7 separate regions of the Homo sapiens genome follow, and all the other regions are linked to region 1. Evidence: promoter capture Hi-C in 16 types of primary human blood cells and fetal thymus (Javierre and others, 2016). All regions are on one chromosome and are shown on one strand. The core of a region is centred on a gene start or on the middle of the fragment in contact, and the rest is flanking DNA. Distances in the headings are between cores, read along the strand shown.

Region 1 (3,695 bases), core at 303-2,802:
AGATGCAAGACACGTATTGGAAGTAGGATAGAACTTGGAGAGAGTAGAAGTCAAGAATGCCTCCCAAGTGTGTAGCCTGTGTCATGTGCCACTTAATAAACTGGGACACTGGAGAAGAAAGAATTTCGATATGGAGAGAAAGATCAAGGCTTTGGATTTGGCTGTGTTGCATCTGAAACTCCTAAGAAAAAAATCAAGTTGAGATGTCAAGCAGACAGCTGGCTATCTAGATGTGGAGCTGAAAACAAAGGGAATAGGCTGGAAATAACAATTTTTAAGTCATCAATATATAGATCAAATTTAAAGCTTAGGGAGGAATATAAGAGTAAAAGAAGAGGACCTAGGACTGAACCCAAATACTCATTTTACTTCATCAAACATCTTTAAGACAAGTGAGTACTTTTATATCACTGGGTTTTTCAGTCCTCCTTCCATTTTACCTTTCAGCAGAATGCAACACTACTGATGACTTTTTTCATGGCTTGCAAGACGCATCCTCCTCTATTGGTTATTAAACAGCAGGAATTCGTCAATGCTCCATCCTAGGTGCCTTTATTTTACAGCACTATACTCTTTTTCGGCAATTTCATCCACATCCATGGCTTCAATTACTATCAATATGGCAGATGACAAACACATACACACACCGCGCACATTTACGTACGCAGCCCAGAACTCTCCTAAGATCTCCAAACCCACTATATCCAACTGCCTACTTGACATTCCCTCTCAGGTATCTCTTCCAGTTAGACACTTGTCAGGAATTGCCACCTCAATAAAGGAATTTATACAGAGCTGAAATTTTGAGAGGAATACCCCAAAACCACTTTAGGACAACTCTTCAGGACACAGGATTTTATCATCAATCATCATTTCCTTTCATGGATCATGACTTAAAATAGTTACATCTAACAACCTGATCTGGCGGCTAGAAATGGGCGCAAGGAAATGCACAACAAAAATACAATTCATGTTTTGCAGTGAGGACTGGTCAAGAGGAAGGTGAAGATGGTCAAGAGAGTGAATGAGTATCATGTCCAAGGCCTGGTGGATGTGCCGTAACGAAAGTCACCTGAAGAGACAGCAGGCCCTGTTAGAAGGTAAGAGGCGAACGACAACAGCCCCAGAGAAAAGGGGCCAGGTTTGAGTTTCGGAGGGAGCGAGTGGCAGTGGAGACCAAGTCAAAGGAGAGGTGGAAGCCGGGGCAGTGCACCCAAAGGTAGTACCTGTGAGGCTGGGGGTGCATCGAGGGGTTGTGGGCGGGCTGAGTAGCAGCAGGGCGAACTCCAGAGGAGTGAACGCCGAGTGGGCGGATCGCACAGAAGGAGGAGGAGGTAGGGAAAACGGCTCAATTGAGAAGCTACCCCGGCCCGCCTTACCTGCGCCGAGGGTCCGGAGCCCCCGGACAGACCCGCGGAAAGCACGGAGCCCGCGAGGAGTGGGAGGAGCCGAGGGTAATGGAAGTAGGGATACCGAACCCAAAGGAGGGAGGCCGCTAGCTACCCCTAGTCAGGGAGAGCGGCTGATGGCGGGAACTGTGACCACACGCAAACACGCACGCACGCACGCACACTCGACGCGACCAGACAGGCGCGTGCGCGTCAGTCGAAAACTCCGCCCCTCACACGCCCTCGCCCCGCCCCGCCAGTACCTAGAGCGGCCTAGCCCGGGCAGCCCCGCCCCTGCCGTGACTGTAGTAGGCACGCGCACTTTCCACCTCACCCGATTTCGACGCCCCCCCACCATTTCCCTCCTACGCAACCCAGTCGGGCATGCGCAATAGTTGTCTTGCCGGGACTGTCCATCTTTTCCCGCCGTTCACTGGCTTTTGGAGGAGGGTCAGAGTTCACGCCGCTCTCTGGAAATAACTGCTCAAAGCCAGAAGTTGCGGGGACTAGTGGTCGCGGACGTCCTTCCGGTCCTAAATCTTAAGGGGCAAAGGACATACTCTGGGACTGTTAACTAGGCCCTGGAGGCGGGAAGAGGATGTGTGGGTGGGGTCAGGGGTGAGAGGTCAGAGGGCCGCGAAGTGGGCGGAGCGAGCCGGAGTCGGATGGCGGCTACGGCGGCTCATTGTTTTCCGCTGCAGGGGTGCTGAAGGGGGGACGCGGGTCGGACGCGTCCGGCTGTGGAAGAGAGCGGCGGCCGCTCACAACATGCACAGCCTGGCGACGGCTGCGGTGAGTGGCTGGGCCCCCAGGCTTGGAACCAGAATCCTTTCTCAGACCCACGTTTCGGCCTTCTCTCCTAATTCCCGGTGTCGGGTCCCTAGTCTGATTTTTTTCTGCCCTCAATCTCCAAGGCCCCGGTTCCCCTCCTCGGCACGCTTTGGTTGTGGTGGAGCCGGCCCCTATTTCCTTGCCGGACGCCTCTCGCGGCCTTCAGCGCGACCCATCGCGTTCTTTGCGGGCGCCGGGGCCTGGTCCCACGCCCGTAGCAGGCCATTCATTGATTTATTGCGCTGACCAACAGTTTCAGGGCGCCAGTTGTGTTCTGGGCGCCGGCGTCGATGAGGGGAATTCCATGGTCAATCTGACGCGGCCCCTGCTCTTAGAACTCACCACGTCGCAGCGGGAAGGAAATGGCTTCTAGTTCAAACCACTTGCTTTATTTATGGAAAACCTGAGGCCCGGAAAAGTGCATAATTTTTGCATCTGACTTAGGTTCTCTGCATTTAAAACTTTTCCTCGACACATCTCGTTTTACCCGCGTGATCTTTTAACAAAAAAGAAAGATAGTGTAATTCAGCTATCCGAAGTAATCCTACTTCTCTTGGCATTTAAATAAAATCTAGACTCCTTGCCATAGCCTGCACGGCCCTGTATGATGTGGTACTTAACCCACGTTTATAATCTCGTTTTATGTCTCTTGCTCCTAAAGCTTCAGCTACTCTGGCCACCTAACCCTCTGCAACGCGCTTATTTTTCTCCAAGATGCACTTTGTGGTCTCTATGCCTGGAGTGAATGTTCTTCTTATCCCTCCTCCTTTACATACACAGCATGAGTGTAATTGGTACCTCTTCCTTGAACTCTCCTTCCTCTCCTTAAACTGTTTATCCAAATCCATCTTTCTTCAGGTCTCTGCCTAAATCGGTCTCAGAGTGGCCTTCCCTGACTATCCTCTTCAAATTAGTTCCGCAGCCTCTAACTTTAGTAGAGTACCCTTTACAGCCCTGATCCCCGTGTAATTATTGTATTCGTTTATTTGTTGTCTGTCTCCTTGAGGGCAGGGACAGGGATCATGTGAGCCCTGTTGACGTGGTTTCCCCGGTGCCAGGACAGTTCCTAGTACAAGATTAAAGACTCAGATACTTTGCTGCATGAAAGAATATTGAAGGGAAGGTGACCACTGAAAGAACATTGCCATGATGGGGAAAGGAGATCATTTGATTTGAGCATACCTGCCTGAAGACCAATTCTGCTTTTTCTGTTTAACCAAAGGGAAATGATTTAAGGAAAGTAATGTACTGAAATTGTATTATCAGGCAAAATGACGTAATTACTAAATAAAGCACCAAAAATTGCCATACGTTTAAGTACAAAAAGTGAAAAATTGAGCCAAGTATGACTAAGCTATAGAAAACTGCTTTTTGAGATTTGATCTCCATTGTCAGTTCCAGTGCTGTTGGTATCTCTGCCTCCTTTCATACTGTTTCTAAGTGTTTGTAACTATTCAATGTAGAGAGTATCTTTTA
Region 2 (3,695 bases), core at 427-2,926, 970 kb after region 1:
AGTGGTGAGGGTGCGGCTGTCTGCACACTGAGCCATGGCACCCGGGCACCGGGGAAACGCCGCTCCAGCTCTGCCACGTGGGCCTTGACAGGTGCGAAGACATCTGCATGGGCCACGCGCTGGGCCTGGCGCGGCTCATACAGTAGCAGCAGGGTCAGGGCTGCCGCAGCATCACCAGGCTCCAGTGCTGCAGTGGCAAAGGCCTCCAAGAAGCCAGGGGCCAGGTCACGCTCAGCCGCAGCTAGAGGCAGCAGCACAGTGAGACGTGAGGCCTCAGTGACATAGGGCACAGGCAAGATCTCCACGCGGCTCAGCGGCCGGAGCAGCTGCACTCGGCGAGTGAGGGGCCGGCGGCCTCCCTGGGGGGTCAGTGCCTCCAGCTGCAAGTCCAGCGTGTATTCCATACCCCGGGCCGGATCAAAGCGTCGGTAGCCATTCACCAGCTGCTGCTTCTGGAGCCGCAAGGCCGGGTGGTAGCGGCGGTTCAGCTCCTCTAGAGCTGTCCCCAGAACATCGGCCACATCAGCCCGGTCAGCCCCACGCAGTGGGCAGCGGGGTGAGCCATCGGCGCAGGAGAAAGCGTGCTGCTCCGTGAAGTAGTCCCAGCGCAGCACCTCAAAGCGGGAGGCCGGGCGGGATGGTGCTGGAATACCCACGGGCCAAGCAGCTGCCTGGTCCCCATCAACGGCCAGATGGCTGGTATTCTGGATCTCCCACTGGATCAGAGAAACAGGCCATCAGCAAGGGACAGATTACAGGGAGCAGCACACAGCTGGGGGACTGGGTAGGCAGTAGGTGCCACTCAGGATGGGCCCCTCATCCCCTGCCAACCTCTGCCCATACCTATCATTTCCCCAGCATAGACAGCCAAGAGGCTCATCAGAGAATGTAGAAACAGGCAGGGGCTGGGAAGTAGTTTTGTTCTGTGATTCTAGTGCTAACTTGTCATTTCTCTGGGCTCTCTGTGACTTCTCAGATCCTGTCCCCGTCACTCTGCCACCCCCAGACCTAGACCATACCTGTAACTCCTGGATCTCCTGGTACGTGCGTTCCAGTTCAGCTCGGGCGAAAGCTTTGTGCAGCTGGTACATGTGCACAGGGTCACGCACAGGGTGGGCTGTCAGGGCACTTCGGAAATGAGGGTCCCCCTCCTGCACTGGCTCCCCAGGGCTCAGCTCCAGATGGCTATAGTGCACCCCCTGGGGAGAGGAAGGGAAGGGATCTGTGATGAGCTGGCATTGTCTTCCGTTGTCTCATAGTAAGTGTCTCATCTCCTCAGCCTATGACCTGTTGTGGACTTGCAGTCTGAGGGTTTAAGTCTACCTTGACCAGTTGTGAGTCTGTGTGACCTTCAGCATGCCTCCGCTAGCTCATCTGCGAAATGGGCATGCGTCCTGTCTCAGAGCTGTCCAAGGGCTAAAATAATAACTAACATCAAATGCCTATTATGTACAAGGCTCCCTGATTTTTTCTAATCCTTGTAACAACCCCGAGCAATAATTATTTCCATTGGCACAAAGGAAGATACTGAAGCCCAGGATATTTAGTAATTTACTGGGGGTCACAGAGATAGAAAATAAATGTCCGAATTGGCATGGAAAAGCAGACCTGTATCTCCAACATCCCTTTGCCTCTCAGAGGGATTTGAACATGACAAGGAGGTATCAGTGGGATAGCTTATCATCCCACCTCGTGGTCACCAGTGCAGCCCACCCCGGTGGCATCGAGAATGCAGCGACCCAGCCACTCGTCAGGGCGCGCACTGACGATGTCGTTGCGGCAGCCTTCCAGGTGGGGGCGCAGTTGTTGCAGCAGCATGCGCGACAGCAGCACCCCAAAGCCTCCGTGGCAGTAGCGGCCGGGGGTGGGCTCTCCGCCGATGAAGTCCTGGGGCCGGCCCAGGTACAGGTGGGCGGCGGAGGCCAGGCTGAGGTGGCCAGTTAGGCGTGCCAGGCCGTGCGCCTCGGTGTAGGTGGTGTCAGGCACCAGGAAGAACCAGTCAAAGTCGTCGCCGTGCTGCTCCAGCAGGTGGCGCAGCGCCAGGTGCAGGTGTCCAATGGGTCGCTCCTCGCCTAGCGTCACCACTGCCATGCCAGGTGGGGCCCGGCGGCCCCGTGCGCCCGTCAGGAACACCACACGCTCCAGCCGGTGCCCCAGCGTGCGGTTCACGGCCACGCCCAGCGTGGGCAGCGTGGTCTGAGAGGTCAGCACCGCCACCAGCAGCCTCTGCCTGATGCCCAGCTCCGTGCTGATGTAGCGGGTCCTAGGGGAGGAGATGGCACAAGCTTATCAAAAGGACAACGGGGCGGGGGGTGGGGGGGAGGTGGTCAGCACAGACCCTGGCAGGTCACGTCTTCTCTGTATCTGTTCTCTCACCTATGAATAGGTTAAAAATAAACCCTCTCTCCCAGGGGTCATGAGGATTTAAACGAAATGGTCTTAAACAGGTAGTGCTTTGCATTTGGGAGATGGCAATACCCACCCAGATAGGAGAGAGATATTGTGGGTCTGACTCCGGGGTTCGCTACTTAGTAGTTATGTCCTTGAGCATGTTATTTAACCTGAGCCATCTGTAAAATGGGACTGATTATATCTGTTTAAAGCACCCAGCCAAACGCTGGACACACCATGTATCTACTCATTTCTATATAAATATGCCATTATGCCACAAATGCCTCACATAAATGACATAAAGGAACGTTTGGCATAGGGGTGTACTGAGTGTTTTTGCGGGGAGGGGCAAACTGCACTCAGGGGCTCTAGGAACTTACCTTTTGGTAAGGCAGAAGGTAAATTGCAGAACCAGCATTTGAACCCAATGTTACTTAGAAGTTATTTCAACTCATCAGCAGAGACATTAATGAGATAGGTACATTCCTCCCTCCCCCATCTCACCCTGAGGTGGCCCTTGTAACCCACTCAGGAACAAGAGATCCAGGTAAATCCTAGTTCTCTCCTTTCTCTTCCCCTGTCTCTATACACTCACCCTATATATAAGTCATTTCTCTAACACCAGCAGCCCAGCCAGGGAGCTAGTAGGATCTCTGGGGCGCCATCGGGTCGAGCCGGTTTAGGACACAGTCCAGTAAGTTCAGCCCAGGCCGGGATAGGGCCCAGAGAAAGTCTCGGACTGGCCCCACGGCTCTCGGGAAGGCAGGGCCATCGGAAGTTATCGGGGCCCAAAGACTTCCTGGCTCGCCAGCCCCTTCCTTCCGGAGCCTGACCCGGGCCCGGGCGACCTCCCCGCGCGCTTCCCGGCCGCTGCCCAGGGGGTAGAGCGGGCGCAGCCGATCACTACCTGACGGCCTTTTTGGCGGCCTGGCCGGGCTGTGCAGGGTGGTAGGGCAAGACGCGCGGCTCCCAATTCTCCCCGGCGCCTTCGCCGGCCCCGGGCTTCTCGCGCTCCGCTCCGGGCTGCACCGAGTTGGGCCGGCGCGCCGCGTTGGTGTTGCCGCGCGGCGGCAGCTCAGAGTCTCCAGGTTGGGGCGGGCCTGGGCCGCACGGCTCCTCCACCCAGGTGACGCTGAGCAGGCTCAGGGTGAAGCCCAGGGAGATGCCCACGGCCACGGGCCCTGCGGGCCGCAGCACCGACAGCAGCAGCGATGCCCGCATGGCGCCCGGACCGCGGGTCCCCGGCCCCGGCGAACCCCCAGAGCAGCCAGAGGAGTCTCCGAGGGGGCGGGACCGGGGAGGGG
Region 3 (3,695 bases), core at 771-3,270, 820 kb after region 1:
AGCGTTGCTTGCTGTTCACCTTGATCACGGGGCCCTGGGGAGAGTCAAGGTGAGGCAGAGGTAATGACAGGCCCAAAGGGAATGAGTCGGCGCTCGGAACAGCCAGACCTCCAAGTCCCTAGGGAGAAATGGCACGTCTCACCTTGTGGAATAAAGGCCGGTGGTTCTCCTCATGCTTGTCCCTGTAAGAGACAGATAAGGGCCAGACATAGCAAACAGGAGCAGGCCTGTCGACACTCACCACCCTCCCATGGCAGACATCACTAATAGATCACCACTCTTTCCCGCCCAGCCCAGTGGGACTTCAGAGTCATTCCACACACAGGGTTCCGGGCAGCCTCTAGCAATAGATGGAAACAAGTTTGTAGACAAAGGTGTATTCCACACACCTGGGTTAGGCATTGCATGACTTTGACCAAGTTGGTCTCGCAGTAGTGAAAAGGAAGTGCCCGTGAACCTCCCGGCAGAATGAAGAAGGGAGAAAGGAAGAGGCTGGGGCCAAGGCAGAGCCTCAAGGCAGGTTATGCTTGGGTCTCCAGCTATGTGAAGACTGTGTGACTGGCACTAGAGACTCACAGGTAGTTGGGATGCACAGCATGGGCCATGTCTGCGCTGATCATGAAGGACTTGGGTATGGCTTCCTCGAAGGCTGTCGGGTGCTGGCACGAGGCTGAGATCCGCCGCAGCACCAGCTCTGTCAGCAGTGACTGTGCTCCCTGTGCACTCTCAGACCCCACCTGGCGACAGTAGAGTCCTGACTCTGGGAATCTGGGCTTAGGGGCCTGATCTTGGAAGCCAGTGAGAGGGGCCCATTGCCCAACTGGCCCAAAACCCCACTGAGTCACTGGGTGTTCTTAGCAACACCCCTAACCTGGGGTCGTCACTGAACACCAGACAGTGGGCTGAGACCAAACTAACTCACATTCTTAACAGTACTGGTGGGTTTCCTGCACTGCTCCCCTTCCTCCTCTCGTGACCCTCACATCTGGGGCTCAGCACAGGTGCCCCACCACACTGGTCAATTTTCTTTTATGTGTATGACAGAGACTGCTAACTGTCCATGATATCTTTTAGAACACCCAAGTTGTAGCTAAGCACTTAACTACCCAGCTAGAGATGACATTTCCAGGCTCCCCTGCAGCTAAGTTCTGTGGAATGTAAGCAGTGATGAATGTCACTTCTGGATCATGCCCTTAAAGCCAGGGGGTGTCTACTGCCCCTTTGCCCTCTCTTCCCTTCCTACTAACTCAGTGTAGACATGATGGCCAGAGCTGGAACGGCCACCCTGAATCCTGAAATGGAAGTCATGTGTTCAGGACGGCAGGGACCCCTCCTAAACTGCTAACTCTGACCTGGGTTGTTACATGAGAGAGCACTAGCTGTTCAAGCTCTGTTATGCAGCTGAGACTGCAGCCTCACACACGCAGGCATCATGAGGACCTACTCTGTGCTGAGCCCTGGGGCTACGAGGATGGGCTGGGTAGAGTCCCTGTCCTAAAGGAAGAAGCTCACCATGTGGCACAAAGAGAGATACAGGAGAGACGGTCACCCTCGAATAAGCAGATCTATGTTGAGTCAGAGGAGACACCAAGTGCTAAGGAGGCACAGGCAGCATCTCCCCTGTCTTGGGGCCCCCAGAAGAGCCCTGGCTCACGGTGGATGCCTGGCACAACAAGTTGGCTGTGGAAGACTCCGCAGAGGTGACCCTCCCCAGAACCCTCCACGTACCTCTTCGTTGTCATAGAGTGTGACCATGCGCACGTGAGGCTCTGTGGCCAGGGAGCCAGGGCCTGCACAGGAATCTATCAAGGCCTGGTTCAGGGAAGGAAATGAGAGCATCATCTCCAACCTGCTTCTGCTGGAACTCAGCCCACCAGCACCTTGGGTGTGCACGCTCCCCCATCCACCAGCACCTTGGGTGTGCACATTCCCCTGTCTGCCTTCCATGGCCATGACTTTTATCAATTAGGGCACTGCCTGGCAGAGGGTGTGGTGGGGACCTTTTTTTTCTTGCCAAATAAATAGCTACATAGGTAGAAACCTTTAAGGTGTGGTGAGGACCTTTTTTTTCTCTTTTTTTCTTTCTTTCTTTTTTTTTTTGGCCAGATCAATAGCTAGGTAGAAACCTTTTCAACTGGGACAGGAGACACCATCCTTTGGGTGTTGTTCTCTACCTTCCCATGCAAAAGGCAGTAGAAGATGTGGAGGACAGAGAGGAAGAGCTGAGAGTCCTGGAAAGCCAAAAGGCTACACACATCACATAAACTGATTGGCCTCAGGGAAAAGACTGAGGTTCAAAGAGGTGACAGACTCCATCAAGGTGACATGACTGGCTGGTTGCCTGCAGAAGTAGATGCAGGTCCCAGGTCCAGCTCTGGTCTCAATTACAGCCCAAAGCCTATCTCCAGCCACAGGATTACAGGGAAGGAAAGGCAGAAAAAGGCAGAGGGAGATCAAGGGCAAGAGGAGAGAAAGAAAGGGAACTGACTAGGGTGGAGAGAAGGTGGGGAATATCAAGGTGACTAGGAAGAGAGGCTACCTGACTGAGATCCCAAGAAACAGGGAGAAGGCTGGGGTCTTAAGCCTGGGGAGTGGCGTAGGAAGCAGAAGGAGGTGGATGATACTGCCTTGTGGATGATAAAGCCTTTCCCTGAGGCAGAGGTTGTTAACTTCAGGAAAAGCAGCAGGAGCAAGGCTAGGACAAGAGACCATGGTGCCTGAAACAACTTCTCCTCCTTCTTCTTGCCTCAACACCCTGATAGTGCAAGGGCAGAGACCAAAGGTGGCGATGCTGAGGCTGCAACATTTAGGGCCCCCTCCTGGTCCATCCAGCACCAGCAGACTGAGCGGGTAGACAATGGCCCTCTCTCACAACCTGCTGGGGCTTTAGGCAGCTCCCCCGACCCCAAACATACCACCTCTGCTGGTGGTTATGTGCTGCCTGGGGCGCCCCGGCTCCTCACCTGCAGGGCACAGAAGCAGCTGTGCAGATTGTCCAGCCGAGGAGCAAAGATGAACTCATCATAGGCACCACCCAAGACCTAGAGAGGTAAGACAGTCAGCCCGACCTTCAACCCTCCACCCCCACTCACCTTTCTTTTGCTCCCAAGGGTCTCCTTGGTTTCTTGCGCAACCTCTCCCTGACCCCTGGCTTAGGGCACTATTTTGTTTTTTCTTTTTTTTGAGATGAAGGTTCGCTCTTGTCGCCCAGTCTGAAGTGCAATGGCTCGATCTCGGCTCACTGCAACTTCCGCCTCCCGGGTTCAAAGGATTCTCGTGCCTCAGCCTCCTGAGTAGCTGGGATTACAGGCATGCACCACCAGGCCCAGCTAATTTTTGTATTTTTATTAGAGACAGGGTTTCACCATGGTGGTCAGGCTAGTCTCGAACTCCTGACCTCATGTGATTCCCCCCGCCTCAGCCTCCCAAAGTGCTGGGATTCCTTGCTAGGCAGGACCAAGCAGAGATTGGAGAAGGGGGCTGGGTTGGTGCTGAGGAACAAAAGGGTGGAGGCCAATAGCTCTTGACCTCTTCCTGTGGGTCAAGAAAAGGAAGGGCTGAATTGTCATCAAAAAGGCCAAAGAAGTAAACAGAGGAAACCAGCCAAAAAACAGAAACTTAGTACGTGTTCAAGCAGGACACAGCATCCAAAGATTTAGCAATCTCTGACCATCAGCAACCGGGAGACAGAGAAC
Region 4 (3,695 bases), core at 866-3,365, 690 kb after region 1:
TTCTGCTTCTGATTGTGTGTGTGTGTGTTTGTGTGTGTGTGTATGTCCTCAGGATGTATACAGATCTCCAGAATTAGGGCCATAAACTCTGGGTGAGTATGCAGGTAATGGTCCATTTTACCAGATCAAAAACTTTTAGACATTCACAGACATGTACAGAATCTAGAAAATGCTACCAGATGTTGAATTACTTTTCTAATTCACTCTCCCGTTGAATTAACTTTTCAGTCCATCTACCTATATGTGTACTCTCCCTCTGGGTCTCTCTCCCTCTTCTCCTTTCCCATTATCATCTCCATCTTTTCTGACCCCTTCCCAGGGTCTCACCTTTATCTTGGAGCAGGGCAGCAAGGTACTCAAAGTTTAAAATGTTTGCACTGACTCCATCTGGGAGAGATAGAGCCACAGCCTTAGTGATGTGCATCCTTCAGTTTTTCCAGACTAGAGCATCTCCCAGCCATCCTCCTTCTCACAGCACTGCCTTTACAAATGGGGTAGCCCTACTCATCACATATCCATGAATTCACCCCTCAATACTCTCCCTGCAGACTTGACTCACATGCTCCGCTGAGATGCTTTTGCCAAGGTCTCTAGTGGCCTGCCTCTTGCCAAATCCAAAGGCCACACATCTCCATCTTCATCTTTCTTAGCCGCTCACAGCAGCATTTCTCATGGTCGATTCTTCTTTCCTTCTTGAAATTCTTTTTTGTTGGTTTTGATGACAGCACCGGCTTCTAGCTTTTGTCCTGGCCCCTCCTTCTTGGTGGCCTCTGATAGCTTAATTTTAAATGATGTTCCCCATAGCCCAGTCTCAGGTTCTCTTATTTCCTTCATTTATTTTTCTCCCTGAAGGAGCAATTGTTGAAGCTTGGTGATGAATATATGAGGTTTTATTATATTATCTCTATTTTTAGGTATATTTTTAATAATATTCATCATAAAAAGTTATTGTAACATTTTTGGAATTATTTAAAGAGAATTATTAAAAAATAATTTTGGAATTATTTTAAAACTAGAGTATATACATTCCCATACAATAGTGAAGGAATAGGATAAAAAGAAATGAATGTCATATATATGCTGACGACTCAAATTTATATCTCCATTTCTGACCTCTCCTCTGAACTTCAGATTCATATGACTAATTGCTTTCTTGACATCTCCACTTGAAAGCCCATGAGACATCTCAAACATAACACAGTCACCATGGAACTGTTTTCTACCCTCACCCCACTCCCTGCCAAACCTGCTTCTGTTCTAGGCTTCCCAGTCTGAGTGATCATCTTCCTTCCAAGTGCTTGAGTTAAAATCTTAGGATTGGCCGGGCACGGTGGCTCACGCCTGTAATCCCAGCACTTTGGAAGGCCAAGGTGGCGGATCACCTGAGGTCAGGAGTTTGAGACCAGCCTGACCAACATGGTGAAACGCCGTCTCTACTAAAAATACAAAAATTAGCTGGGCTTGGTGGCGGGCACCTGTAATCCCAGCTGCTCGGGAGGCTGAGGCAGAAGAATCATTTGAAGGAGGCGAAGGTTGCAGTGAGCCAAGATCGCACCATCGCACTCCAGCCTGGGGGACAAGAGCGAGACTTCATCTAAAAAAATAAATAAATAAATAAATAAATAAAATCTTTATTTTAGGATCACTTTCCTCTCTCTCTCTCTCTCTCCTCTCCCTCTTTTAAGTTAGAATTTTTTGGCTGCAAATAATGGAAAACCTAACTTATCAATGGCTTGAACAATGAGGGCATGTATTATCCCACAAGAAATCTGAGTATAGGGTCTTTCCAGGGTTGATTCAGTCATGTCACCAATAACTCCAGTGTTTCTAGCTTTCTGCGCTGTCATCCTCAAAGAGCGGGTGACATCTTCCCTCAGGAACACAAGATACAGCAGCTCTAAGTATCATGTCCTTATATGACTCTGTCTTAAGGCAGGAAATGGGGGGCTTCCTCCCACATCTGTTTTTATCAGGAGAAAAACCTTTCCTTGAAGCGCCCTAGCAGACTTCCCCCTTCTATCTCACTAGCTTTTGCCTAAACCAGTCACTGGAGGGAGGGAGTTAAATGGCCATGGATGGTTTGGACTAACCTGTACACACCCCTAGGTCTGGGGGAAAGCTGTCTTCCTCAAGCAAGTGCAAGGGTGAATACTCAAATAAAATCAGGACCTTGCTAGTGAAGAATTGGGCAGGGGCAGGCAAGGCTGTTGAGAAGCTCTGCCACCACCTACACTAGTATGTCCTTCACTTTACTGCCAACCCAGCTACTTCTCACCACCCCCTACTACCATCCCGTTATTCCTAGATGCCTTCAGCAGCCTCTGAACCAGCTTCCTGCCTCTAGGCTTGAAACCCTAATGCAGTCTCCACACAGCAGCTGCAGTCATCTCTCTGAAACACAAGCTAGGCAATGACGCTTGTTTCAAACCCTCCTGTTACACTTATATAAAAGCCATTCTCCTTCCAAGGCCCCTCCACCTCTATGATCTCATCTTGTAGAGCTCTCTCCTTTCCTCACTCTGGGTTTTTGGACACACTGGGCTAGTTCCTACCTATGATTGTTTGCACTTATTATTCTGTCTGTCTGGAGAACTGGTTTCCAGATCTTGCCTCGCTGACTCCTCACCATTCAGCCCTCAGTTCAAGTGTCACCTTCTGGCCGGGTGTAGTGGCTCACGCCTGTAATCCCAGCACTTTGTGAGGCCGAGGCGGGCGGATCATGAGGTCAGGAGATCGAGACCATCCTGGTTAACATGGTGAAACCCCATCTCTACTAAAAATACAAAAAATTAGCCTGGCGTGGTGGTGGGCGCCTGTAGTCCCAGCAACTCGGGAGGCTGAAGCAGGAGAATGGCGTGAACCCAGGAGGCAGAGCTTGCAGTGAGCTGAGATCGTGCCACTGCACTCCATCCAGCCTGGGCGACAGAGCGAGACTCGAGACTCTGTCTCAAAAACAAAACAAAACAAAACAAAACAAATATCACCTTCTTATAGAGTGGCTTCTGTTCAGTCTAAAATAGCAGCCCCTGCATATCTTTCTGTTCCATTATCCAGCCTTGTTTTCTTCACATGCTTATTGCTATCTGGAATGTTCTTGTTTGTTTATTGTCTGTCTTCCCCATGAAAATGAAAGCTCCATTTTATTTCTTTTTGAGACAGGGTCTTACTGTGTCACCCAGGCTGGAGTGCAAGTGGCATGATCACGGCTCACTGCAACCTTGACCTCCTGCGCTCAAGTGAGCCTCCCTCCTCAGCCTCCCAAGTAGCTGGGGCCACAGGCATGTGCCACCACACCCAGCTAATTAAAAAAAAATTTTTTTTTTTGTGGAGGCAGAGTCGCATTATGTTGCCCAGGCTAGAATGTAAGCTTCTTAAGAGCATAAACTTGCCAGGCACAGTGGCTCACACATGTAATCCCAGAACTTTGGGAGGCCAAGGTGGGCAGATCACCTGAGGTCAGGAGTTCGAGACCAGCCTGACCAACATGATGAAACCCCGTCTCTACTAAAAATACAAAAATTAGCCAGGCATGGTGGCATGCGCCTGTAATCCCAGCTACCTGGGAGGCTGAGACAGGAGAATTGCTTGAACCCGGGAGGCGGAGGTCGCAGTGAGCCGAGATAGCACCACTGCACCCCAGCCTGGGCAACAAGAGCAAAACTCCATTCCCCACCCCCCAAAAAAGCATAAACTTT
Region 5 (3,695 bases), core at 321-2,820, 670 kb after region 1:
GTGCATCATAGTCATAGCTGGTAGTAATCGGAAGGAAGCGTCCCTTCTTATCGGCACCTGAAGTTGAGCCAATTTAATTAATTCAACATGTATTTCAGATGACAGGCACTACTAAGCATGCTTCATGCAGAGAATTTTGCCATCAGAGGGGGCAGAGGTGGCCATATTCAGCTTCTAGACATCCTAATCCACCTGGCCCTTAGATTCTAATTCCTTGTTACCTCCCTGCTTCTATCCCAGGGACCATCTGGACTCACCATTCCAATATCCAAAGTTGGTACCTCCATGGAACATGTACCTGAAGTGAGAGAGGGTGGGGGAACAGGTAAAAGCTGACTCACTGAATCTTAACTTTCATCCCCAGCTCCCAGCTACAGATTCATATTGCCCCCAGTGTCTTTACTTACATGTTCACACTGGCTCCCAACTTGAGCATGTTCTCTAGTCCTTTGGTTACAGCTGACACAGACCGTGTGGAGTGATTCTGGCCCCAGTAATCCAGCCAGCCTGTGTAGTACTCAGAGTTTACCTAGAGTGTGAAATGAAAGGAGTGTGAGTGAGATGGAACTGAGCTGGACCCATTCCTATCCCTGATTCCCTGACTCCTCTCTGGCCCCTCACCAATGGCCCATGGGGTTCATACTTCCGAAGCAGGGTAAAGATTTTGGTCATGTTGTCAGCTGCGGAAAGGAGGCAAAAGAAAAAGATAAATGTCGTGGAAGAGGTGTCCTTTCCCCAGACTCCACTCCCAGCCCTTGCTTGAGACCTGGGCCAAAATCTACAGTGGTATAGAGTCCCCGGAGGGAGCCACACTTGAGTCCTTCAGGCCCATCTGTGGTGAAGAGCAAGATCTTTTCTCCTAGCAGTGCACGGAAGAGCCCAGCCAAGTGCCTCATGTAGCTGAAGTCACAGGCTCTGTAGCTACCATATTCATTCTCCACCTGCCAGAGGGGAGGGAAAGTGGAACCCAGCTATGGGATGGAGGTCAAGGACCCCTTGTACCTTCTTCCCCTGCTCCAGTCACTTCCCCCTTGTACCTGAATGCTAATGATGTTGCCCCCATTGTGATAAAGCCATGGATATATCTTGGGCAGCAAGACCTTGAACCAGGAGTCCACTGCGGCAAGGAAGTCTAAAGGAAGGAGCAGAGCTTCTGTGTTAGGTGCTACCATCACACTTGCTCACCACTAAATATGGGAAGCAATGACTCTTGTCAAGAAATTCCCAACCCTAAGCACCTTGTATATTTGCACGCCAATGAAATTTGAACATAGGAAACCTTAAAATAGTGTTTCTTAAAAACAAATGGGCCGGGCGTGGCGGCTCACGCCTGTAATCCCAGCACTTTGGGAGGCGGAGGCAGGCAGATCACGAGGTCAAGAGATTGAGACCATCCTGGCCAACATGGTGAAACACTGTCTCTACTAAAAATACAAAAAAATTAGCTGGGCATGGTGGCGGGTGCCTGTAATCCCAGCTACTCAGGAGGCTGAGACAGGAGAATCGCTTGAACCCGGGAGGCAGAGGTTGCAGTGAGCCGAGACTGCACCACTGCACTCCAGCCTGGGCAACAAGAGCAAAACTCCATCTCAAAACAAACAAACAAAAATGGTGGTATATGGGGAGACTAAAATATAGAGGGGATGGCCGGGTGTGGTGGCTCACGCCTGTAATCCCAGCACTTTCTGAGGCCAAGGCAGGGGTGGATGACCTGAGGTCAGGAGTTTGAGACCCTCATGGCCAACATGGCAAAAACCTGTCTCTACTAAAAATACAAAAAATTAGCCGGGCAAGGTGGTAGGTGCCTGCAATCCCAATTACTCGGGAGGCTGAGGCAGGAGAATCACTTGAACCCAATCGGAGGTTGCAGTGAGCCAAGGTCACGTGACTGCACTCCAGCCTGGGCAACAGAGCAAGACTCCGTCTCAAAAAAAAATAACAATTATGCCGGGTGCGGCGGCTCACACCTGTAATCCCAGCACTTTGGGAGGCCAAGGCTGGCAGATCACGAGGTCAGGAGATCGAGACCATCCTGGCTAACACAGTGAAACCCCATCTCTACTAAAAATACAAAAAATAGCCGGGTGTGTTGGTGGGCACCTGTAGTCCCAGCTACTCAGGAGGCTGAGGCAGGAGAATGGCGTGAACCTGGGAGGTGGAGCTTGCAGTGAGCCGAGATTGCGCCACTGCACTCCAGCCTGGGTGATAGAGCGAGACTCCATCTCAAAAATAAAACAAAATAAAAATAATATATATATATGTGTGTGTGTGTGTGTGTGTGTGTGTGTGTATATATATATATATATATATATACATACATATATATGTATGTATAGAGAGAGCGAGAGAGAGACCAGGAAGGCCTCACCAAGGTGACTTCTGCAGGAGGCTTGTGATGAAGGAGCACCACATGCAAAGGCCTCAAAGCCCAAGGCCTGGTGGGTCTGAAGAACAGCAATGAGGCCACTGTGGCTGGAGCAGAGTGAACATGGGGGAGAAGAGCAATAATGTCGAGGAGGTGACTGGGGCCAATTGTGTAGGACCTACCACTTTAAGGAATTTATGGTTCATATTCTGAATGAGATGAGAACCTACTAGAGAGGTTTAAGCAGAGAAATGACAAGATCTGAGATGTATCTTTAAACTTATACTTGAACAGGATCACACTGGCTACTCTACTGAGAACAGATTGTATGGGGGAGAGGGCAAACAAGGGAAACCAGTTAGGAAGCTATAAAATAAGCCAGCTGAGAGAGATGGTTTGGACCAGGGTGGGGGCAATGGGGGTGATAAAAAGCACTTAAATTTAATGTTTGTCAAGATACAGCTGATAGGATTTTCTCTTTTTTGAGACAAAGTCTCTTCAATCTGTCACCCAGGCTGGAGTGTAGTTGTTCAATCTCGGCTCACTGCAACCTCTGACCCCCGGGCCCAAGTGATTCTCCTGCATCAGCCTCCCAAGTAGCTGGGATTACAGGTGCCCACCACCTCGCCCAGCCAATTTTTTGTATTTTTAGTAGAGATGGGATTTTGCCATGTTGGCCAGGTGGGTCTCAAACTCCTGACCTCAGGTCATGCACCCGCCTGGGCCTCTGAAAGTGCTGGGATCACAGGCATGAGCCACCGCGCCCAGCTGTTTTTTTTTTTTTTAATCAGTTTCTTCCACTATATTATAAGCTTTACGGCACAAGGATGGGGGTCTGTCTGGTCCCCCAGTTTCTAGCATCCTGCTGGGCATGAAGGAAACACTTGGTAAATGAATGATGACCTCCAATTTGGGAATGGTCTCTTCTGCTTTTGGCACCCAAATAGCCCATTTTACTTACTTGCTTCTGTGTTAAATCCTTTGTCTCAACTCACCTGGATCTGAGGTTCTTAGATGAATTTCAGGTTTTCGAAGCAACCAGGATGGGAGACCCCCCTGAGACAAACATAAAGAGAACAAAGAAGCATGTAGGTTTTGTTTTGGGGTGTGGTGGGGAAGCTAGGAAGGGAAGGAAGGAAGGGAAGGAATTGAATATAGTGCTGGAGATGGCCCTAGAGTGTGGGCAGATGGGAGTAGTCTAGGAACTGCACAAGGATAACTGGTTCTATCCCTTCTCCAGCTAACTCACCATCTCCCACTCTGCACAGATGTAAGGTCCTGGTCTCAGTATGACCAACAGGTTCGCTAGAGCTGCCTCATTCAGAAAGGC
Region 6 (3,695 bases), core at 421-2,920, 650 kb after region 1:
GTGCAGTGAGCTGAGATCGCGCCACTACACTCCAGCCTGGGTGACGGAGCAAGATTCCGTCTTAAAAACAAAAAGAGGCCAGGCGCAGTGGCTCACGCCTGTAATCCTAGCACTTTGGGAGGCTGAGGCAGGCGGATCACGAGGTCAAGAGATCGAGACCATCCTGGCCAATGCTGTGAAACCCTGTCTCTACTAAAAATACAAAACTTAGCTGGGTGTGGTGTCATGCACCTGTAGTCCCAGCTACTCAGGAGGCTGAGGCAGGAGAATCGCTTGAACCCGGGAGGTGGAGGTTGCAGTGAGCTGAGATCACGCCACTGCACTCCAGCCTGGTGACAGAGCAAGACTCCGTCTCCAAAAAAAAAAAGAAACTGAGGTGTACCTGGCTCCTTTCCACATCTTGGTCCTCTTCATGAACCTGCAATGTATAGGACTGGGGACGAAGTCCAGGGGCCCAGAGACCCAGGACAAACAGCCCTCCAGAGACCACATACCGCAGCACCCACAGGCTAAACTGAACCTAGAATGAAATATAAGTGGAGAGAGTATCATTGAGGATAAAATTTCATTGTATTACTACTTATAATAGGGCCGGGGACTGGTGTCATGAACACATTCAGCACTTACAGGCTTAAAAAAAAAAAAAAAAGCAAAACCACAGTGACTCAGCAAAGACACACCCCACCAGCTGGCTATCAGCTCCCGGCAGGACTCAGCCCCTCCCTTCTCCCTTTGCTTAGAGGCATCCTAAAGCCTGGAAGCAGTGTGACTGGACATGCAGTGCTTTCTCCCAAGCCCGGCCAGCAGAGGCTTCCCCCTTCCCACAGAGTCCCTCACCTGCTGGCCCAAGTCTGCCCTTGCCCACCACCACTGTGGGCTGTTCCAAGACACCAGGGCCAAGTTCTCAGCTGCAAACGCCACAGTCCAGAGGAGCAGGAGACCAGGGCTGTGCCTGAACTTGATCCAGATGCCCATTGCCAGACGCTGCCGTGCCTGGCTCCGCTCCACGACAAGCAGCCACAGGCCACAGGCGCCGGCCAGACTCTCCAGCACGGAGGCCAGAAGTAGATAGCTTGGCAGTGGGGCCCCCCGGGCAGTGCCCACCCGGCCAGCCAGGCCGGCCAGGGGCAGCGCCGCCTGAAGTGTGGCCAGAAGCAGCTGCAGCACGTAGGGAGAGATGCGAGGGCCGGCCCCCCAAGACAGCGAATCAGCACCAGCGGGCCGCTCCCGGCGTCTGCAGGGAAGAGCCAGCACCAAGGCCAGAGTCCCCAGAGCCATCCGCGTCGAGGGCACGAGCGTGAAGAAGAAGCAGGGACTCAGGCCATCCTGCATCCAGGCCGGACCCACGGGCCCTTCGGCCTCGCAGTAGTTGCCCACAGTCACCATGGCAATGCGTGGACGCCGGCCGAGGCTGCGGGCACTGCGGGACCGGAGGCCGGGACTGGTCACTCGGAGAGGGGCGCGGACATCCGGGTGCCTTGGCTCACGTAGCCGCTGGGCGCCAAGCTGCGGGGGTCCCGGGAAGGGACGCACGTGGACCAGGCCTCACCGCCCACTCCCCTAGCGCACGCGCCGCCGCCACGCACTCACGCAGGGCACGTACGCCGTCTCAGCACGGCCCCGCTGGCTCTGGGCCCGGGACCCTCCTGCCAACTGCAGGCCCACGGGAATGCTCGGTGTTGGACTCGCACCGCGCTCCACGGCTGTAGCCCCGCCCACAGCCCCTACCCACGGCTCCCATTGGCCAAATGTCTCCGAGGGGGGAGCGGGGGGAATGGTGCAGGCAACGAATGCAAATTAGAGAAGCAGAGCCGGCTTGGTCACGTGCCCAGGGCGGGAAATCTGACGACCAGGCCGAGCTGGAAACCTCCACGGAATCGTGGCTCGGGGCTGGAAACAGACCTCACGGAATCCTGGCTCGGGGCAGGACACAGACCTCCACGGAACTGTGGGTCGGAAGCTGCCCTTCCGCCAGCCGCCTTGCTCAGCGTATCTGAGCGACGGCCTAAACATACTTTCTTCTAGACCCCGGCAGAGTCCCCATCCCATTTCTCTTGTTCCCAGGATTCTAGCCGCGCGAGACAACAAGAAGTCTGGTCAAACTCCCTTTTTATTAAGGGTTATCAAGCTGTACACGGTCCCTACCCTGCTCCGCTCCGAGTTCGGGCAGCGCAATTCACCACTCTCCCAAAGCCGGACCACAGCTGGGTGAGGGGTGGGACAGAGAGTAGGAGCAGTCCCAGCATGCAGTGCAGCAGCCCAAAGCCTCGGGCGAGGCATCGCCCTTCATCCCCCTTCAGGGCACAGCGAGATGCGGGCCAGAGCTCTTTTGCTGGGACGCACACAGCCAAGGTCACCCTCCAGCCCGGTCTGTCCCATGTGCAGGTGATGGGGGGTACGATAAGCAGCAATGAGGGCCCAGGAAGACCTCAGTCTCCTGGGGGCCCATCCTAAAAGATGGCAAGGGCAGCAAAGTATTTCCATCCTGCTCCTACAATTTAGAAACCTTCTTTTTTAGTGTCAAAATATAGCGTTGAGGGGAGCTGGACGCTAGGGTCTTCACCCTAACGCAAAGCAAAAGCCGAACGGAACGGGAGCAAGCGAACAGAACAGGAGCAAGCAGCACACACAGGCCAGTGATGTGCAAGAAGCGGAGAGAGGTGAGCCGGCTGCAGCACTGGGCGAGAACTGCGGGTGAGGTAAGGGCCACAGCCTGACCTGCTCATCTATTGAGGGGGCTAGGGAAGGTTGCAGGGGTTGAGGGTCCAGGCCCAACCTCCCCACTCCACAGTTGGCACAGGTTCTCCCTGCTTGGCAGCTTCTATCGTGGGCAGCCCTCTGGGGACTTGCAGGGGTAGGTGTAAAGGTGGCAGTACTGGGGCTGGGCTGGGGGCCAGTTTCTAGCACCACACTCTGAGCCAAGGGGGTCCTGGGGATGAGGCTAGAGTCCCGTGTGCCCTCGGTTCCTAGGCCCCAAATTCCTCTCCTGGGGCTGTGGCAAGCCCAGTGTTGGCACCTCCCTTGGCCAGGCACAGACACACAAACACCACACACGTGGGGCCAGGGAACACTCAGAGGAGCCGTCCCATGGCAGGCAGACGGGATGGCAGGGCAGCGGTGGCCTCCATCCTGGGCCACAGGAACCCTGCTCAGCCTTGTCTATACCTGTGGGGAGAAAGGGTTGGTAATGGAGATAGTCTTCAGCTTCTGGTTGATACCTGCTAGCCCCATAGAAACCTAGAGGTAAAGGGACAGGAAAGGTTGATTCCTGGGGAGGTAAGGTAAGGAAAAACCAAGCCCTGCAGAGCAGTTGAGAAAAGAAGGGGTAGTGTGTTTTGGAAGGGAGGGTACAGTATCTCTGTGTGGGGGTGGGGCATATCTTCCTTCCCCTGAAAAGCTGTTACCTCACCCTGGAAGTTACTATTTCTGGCAGTTTTTCCTAGGCCCCGGGGCCCTTACCTTGTGCACCTGAGGGGGTAGCTCATCCTCCGAGCCCTCTTCGGGCACGGGCTCAGGGTGCCTTGATGCCGACTGCCCATCTTCTGCCCACCCTCCAAGAGGCAGCCGAGAGAAATGAGAGGGAACCCTGGGCACTGTGCCAGGATCTGGAGAGACAAGTAAGAGTAAGCATACTCATAGAAGGAACACAAGAATGAGGAACAGGGCTGGGGGGCTGCTTGGGGGGTGAGTCTTTG
Region 7 (3,695 bases), core at 1-2,500, 590 kb after region 1:
ACTAGCTAGCATGCAGTGGAAATTCCAATAGAAGGGGAGGCCAGAGAGCTCACTTCGCACCCGTAGAATCAGTGCATCTGCCACACAATCACAGGAGAAGGTAGCTTCGCTAGGGTGAGCAGCGTCCTTCAACAATGGGCGAAGGAGATTATCCAAATGACAGAGGAAAGCTGCAGGAGGAGCAGTGAGCCGCTTGTTCAGCTCCTAAAGAGAGAGCAGTGGTACAGAGTAAGGGTGCTAAAAGGAAACTAATTCCCTCATAAGTAACAGCAAAGGAAAGCCCTGGTTAACACGAAGGCAATGGACATGAGAGGAAGGGGAGAGAAGATAAAAACATCACAAGGGGAAAGAAGAAAACAAAAAGAAGAGAGTCACAAAGACCAATTGGCCTACTTCACAATTCTGCCTTGGGCAAGATTAAATCACAAAAGGCCTATCTAGATCAAATAATATATTCATTATCATGCATAGGGTAGGGAAACTAACTTTCTTTCTCTCTCTCTCTCTCTCTCACACACACACACACACACACACACACACACACACACACACACACACAAAGATTCCAGGCAGAAGTACAGGTAGAAGTACAGGACATTAACTGGAATTGTCTCAACCCGATTCAACCTTCCTTGGGAAACTACAGGCCAGCAAGCTGGTTGATGTTCACATCCCCGACACAGCAGTACTTCTCCTCATACTTACCTTGGCTCGCTGGCTGACCACACTAGTGTCCACCTGTTCATGCCACACCTGTTGAAGATCTGAAACCAACAAGGCATAGCCCTGCTTGGTGATAAAAACCTTGGCCAAGAGGGAGTTCTCTGCAAGCTGTAGCCACGCCCATGGCTGCATCAACAGGCCTTGCTCCAGTTCTTCCATCTGCAAAAAAGTCCTCATTTAGTAAAGAGCCTCAGGGTCATGCTGGCCTAGGGAGGGCACCACCCAAACCAGTCTGTATCAACTAAAATCTCATGAAAATCCTCCCTGATAAAATAGAAGGCATGGATTTACGTTCTCCCAGTATACAACCAGCTGAGCACTGACTTTACTACCTCCTGGCCACTAAAAGTATATTTAAAATCTTGAGGGTTTTTTTTTTCCCATATTACATTCCTAGAGGACAGAAAATCTTTCTTCCATAGTGTTTAAACCTCAGCATATTGCTGTTAGTATTTCTGCTTTCTAATACTATAACATAACGTGGAAACCTAAACCCTTCTTGTTCCATCTTTATCACATTCCTAATAAATATGTCACTCCTATCCTTTCCCAGAACTAGAAGAGAAGGAATAGTTCTTGTCTTATAAAACATCATAAGTCATAGTGTCAGGGCCAGGAAATTCGAAGTATTTGATCATTATCTAAAAACAAAGTTTAGGAAGCTCTCAGGATTTTTTTAAAAATCCCTAAAACAGGTTCTTAATCTAGAGTCAATGCATGTGAATCCTCTAGAATTATATGAAAATGTTATGTGTACACGCATATATGCATGGGGAGGGGGAAGAGGTCTACAGCTATCATCAAACTCTCAGGGATCGATGACACAAAAAAGAGCTAAGAACCTGTGTCCAGGAGCAACAGAAAAGACCTAAATTTCATTTCAACAAAAACCAGAATGACTAGGAAATCATGAATACAAGGCAGAGCACATCACAGAGGTAAAGACTGAATTAACTTCCACTTAACTCATCCTCCACATTCCCACTCCAGTGCACTGCCACCAATGACAACATGCCCAGCCTGGAACCCCTGCAAAACAACTTTTCTATCTCAGCAGCTAAAGTAGTAGGCTTAACCTAGTAGACAATCAGAACTACGGCTGCTTGACAGAGAATGTGATTGTTTTTCCTGTGGGGGAGAAAAAAATATGTCAATTTCCTTCATTATTCCAGTCTACAAATATAAAATGAACAGAAGTACCAGGAAGGAAAAATTTAGAATGTAAATAATGAAATTCCTTATTAAGTCTGATTAACACAGTCATTTCCCCTAGCTTTTGAAGTGTGCCCTTGTGACTTGTGACATAACTTTATATATATATGCATATATATATGCATATATATATATGCATATATATATGCATATATATATGCATATATATATGCATATATATATATGCATATATATACATATACGTGGTGATCTTTCTTTATGGCATCCTCAAAGCCTTGTGTTTGGAGGATGGTGTTTCCGTCACATTTCCCACATGCTGCTCTTATGGGGACAGAAGTGGTCATGGGATGATTAAGCTAGTCCTAGCCGGACAAGAGCTCCACAATGCCAAAGGTCACAAACGCGAATAAAGTCGCCACTTTCATCTCCCTTATAGGCACTCCCCAGTGTACTCTTAACAGTTGCCAAAATTGGGTTTACTATTCTAGCCCATTCCTTCGGAAAGCCCGGAAGCTCAGAACCCTCAAATTGATGGGTTTTGTTTGTCTGTTGGGTAAAGGGGGAGGAGTTTAAAATGTGGCCAGGAGTAACGGGCCCTATAAAAAGGCCTGACACATTGGGCACCAGACCCCGGCTGCCTGCTCCCACCACACGCGTCCCGTTCTGCGTCCGAAGCTTCTACACTTCATCCTTTTCTTTTTTCCTTCAAGGCTGCCTCTAACATTCACATTAACGAGATTCACGGGTTTATTTCTCTTGAGTGGAGGGGCGCTGAGCGGCATCCCGGCGGAGGGGTCCCTTGAGAACCTTTATCTGCACCGAGTCCGCTCCTCAGCAGTGACCCCTCTGGGCAGTTCCTCCGACGCCCTGCAGAGGGCAGTAGAGGCCCAGAGAGCATCCCGGCTGGGCCCCGCCCGGTCCCCCTGGGACAGCGCGAACCCTAGGTCCCACCACAACCATAGCCCCACCCCAGGAGCCGCCAGGCGTCCCGCTTCCACCCGCCCCAGCTATAACAGCCTTCGCTGTCCGCCTTCCCATTTCTACAGCACTGGCTGCACTGGGGCGCGGCTTCAAGGGGCAACAAAGCCGGCCACCAGCGGCTTCGTCGCACCAAACAGGCGACCAACGAGTACCTTCACTCGAGCCCTACCATCCACGCCGGGCAGCAGCCAGCGGACTGCGCACGCGCGGCCCCGCCCACCCCTCCCCCGGAGGCCTGCCCTGGACCCCGGCAGCGCGCGCTCCCTCCAGGGAGAAAAGGCCAGCGCCAGGGCCAACCCGCAGCGTCTGAGCAGCCCCTCGCTGGCTTGCTCCTGCCCGGACTCGAACGCGATTCCACCTACCGTCAGCGGCCGCGAGAGCGCCCACTCTCTTAGCCGCACGCACGCTTTCCTGCCCGCTCGCGCAAACCGAAAGGCCTAGAGTAAGAGGCCGCTTTCCCCCCACCGCAAGAGGAGGCAGGGTCTTGGGATACAGGGGCGGGGCCTATGCCTGGCGTGGGCGGGGCTTCTGGGCCTGGGACACTGATGAGAGGAGCGCCCCAGTGGCCAGGGTAAGTGGAGGAGAGGCCGGGCAGCCGGCTAGTAGAAGGGTAGTGGCGCGTCTTGGAGTCACGCTGGCCGAGTGGAAAGAATAGCGGGCGAGGCGCAGGAGAGGGGAGCCCAGGTTTGGATTTGTCAAACTTGAGTCACTTCTCTTCCCTCCCCTACCTATCCGGTCTCTTTTTAACAAAATAAGGGATTGAACTTCTGTAGATGATCTCTCAGGTCCTCCACCAGCACTAGAGTTGTTGAAGGAAG

What was found. Contacts are between HindIII fragments. The CHiCAGO score rates a contact against its expected background, and 5 or more counts as called.
Region 2: a contact is called between a fragment that was not itself captured here and the fragment with the promoter of USP37 in region 1, in 1 of 17 cell types (total CD8 T cells). The highest score is 5.4, in total CD8 T cells.
Region 3: a fragment that was not itself captured here is called in contact with the fragment with the promoter of USP37 in region 1 in 7 of 17 cell types (naive CD8 T cells, total B cells, non-activated CD4 T cells and 4 more); the score reaches 8.4 in naive CD8 T cells.
Region 4: a contact is called between a fragment that was not itself captured here and the fragment with the promoter of USP37 in region 1, in 3 of 17 cell types (activated CD4 T cells, naive B cells and fetal thymus). The highest score is 7.7, in activated CD4 T cells.
Region 5: a contact is called between a fragment that was not itself captured here and the fragment with the promoter of USP37 in region 1, in 3 of 17 cell types (fetal thymus, total CD4 T cells and naive B cells). The highest score is 7.0, in fetal thymus.
Region 6: the fragment with the promoter of ABCB6 here is called in contact with the fragment with the promoter of USP37 in region 1 in 7 of 17 cell types (neutrophils, activated CD4 T cells, total B cells and 4 more); the score reaches 6.5 in neutrophils.
Region 7: a contact is called between a fragment that was not itself captured here and the fragment with the promoter of USP37 in region 1, in 2 of 17 cell types (total B cells and naive CD8 T cells). The highest score is 6.6, in total B cells.

The regions. Positions count from the first base shown.
Region 1 is chr2:218,566,799-218,570,493 of GRCh38, forward strand. It overlaps USP37 (ubiquitin specific peptidase 37), which reads right to left and starts at 1,553. Exons shown (of 26, transcript NM_020935.3): 1 at 1,380-1,553. It overlaps CNOT9 (CCR4-NOT transcription complex subunit 9), which reads left to right and starts at 2,041. Exons shown (of 8, transcript NM_005444.3): 1 at 2,041-2,180. The coding sequence starts at 2,157. RefSeq lists enhancers at 1,396-2,023, 2,024-2,651, 2,446-2,635 and silencers at 1,516-1,585, 1,676-1,735. The HindIII fragment of the contact is 2,574 bases long and covers 305-2,878 here.
Region 2 is chr2:219,539,927-219,543,621 of GRCh38, forward strand. It overlaps CHPF (chondroitin polymerizing factor), which reads right to left. Exons shown (of 4, transcript NM_024536.6): 1 at 3,299-3,695; 2 at 1,690-2,263; 3 at 1,020-1,199; 4 at 1-716. The coding sequence starts at 3,612. Among named protein-coding and RNA genes, the nearest start is that of CHPF, 2.0 kb to the right of the region's middle. RefSeq lists silencers at 3,315-3,404, 3,415-3,695. The HindIII fragment of the contact is 1,213 bases long and covers 1,071-2,283 here.
Region 3 is chr2:219,381,403-219,385,097 of GRCh38, forward strand. DNPEP (aspartyl aminopeptidase) reads right to left here. Exons shown (of 15, transcript NM_012100.4): 9 at 2,964-3,041; 10 at 1,729-1,812; 11 at 577-737; 12 at 143-182; 13 at 1-34. Among named protein-coding and RNA genes, the nearest start is that of DNPEP, 4.7 kb to the right of the region's middle. The HindIII fragment of the contact is 7,826 bases long and covers 1-3,695 here.
Region 4 is chr2:219,259,373-219,263,067 of GRCh38, forward strand. All of the region lies in intron 1 of TUBA4B (tubulin alpha 4b), which reads left to right. Among named protein-coding and RNA genes, the nearest start is that of TUBA4A, 7.3 kb to the left of the region's middle. The HindIII fragment of the contact is 2,500 bases long and covers 866-3,365 here.
Region 5 is chr2:219,239,154-219,242,848 of GRCh38, forward strand. It overlaps GLB1L (galactosidase beta 1 like), which reads right to left. Exons shown (of 17, transcript NM_001286423.2): 4 at 3,615-3,695; 5 at 3,361-3,421; 6 at 1,038-1,132; 7 at 767-941; 8 at 622-680; 9 at 408-529; 10 at 258-298; 11 at 1-57. Among named protein-coding and RNA genes, the nearest start is that of GLB1L, 4.4 kb to the right of the region's middle. The HindIII fragment of the contact is 3,209 bases long and covers 1-3,175 here.
Region 6 is chr2:219,217,288-219,220,982 of GRCh38, forward strand. ABCB6 (ATP binding cassette subfamily B member 6 (LAN blood group)) reads right to left here and starts at 1,671. Exons shown (of 19, transcript NM_005689.4): 1 at 838-1,671; 2 at 383-520. The coding sequence starts at 1,386. It overlaps ATG9A (autophagy related 9A), which reads right to left. Exons shown (of 16, transcript NM_001077198.3): 15 at 3,460-3,605; 16 at 2,093-3,165. The coding sequence ends at 3,160. RefSeq lists an enhancer at 888-1,755 and a silencer at 1,001-1,110. The HindIII fragment of the contact is 13,414 bases long and covers 1-3,695 here.
Region 7 is chr2:219,157,481-219,161,175 of GRCh38, forward strand. It overlaps NHEJ1 (non-homologous end joining factor 1), which reads right to left and starts at 3,335. Exons shown (of 8, transcript NM_024782.3): 1 at 3,240-3,335; 2 at 706-882; 3 at 1-204. The coding sequence starts at 882. RefSeq lists a silencer at 3,000-3,119. The HindIII fragment of the contact is 2,637 bases long and covers 1-2,569 here.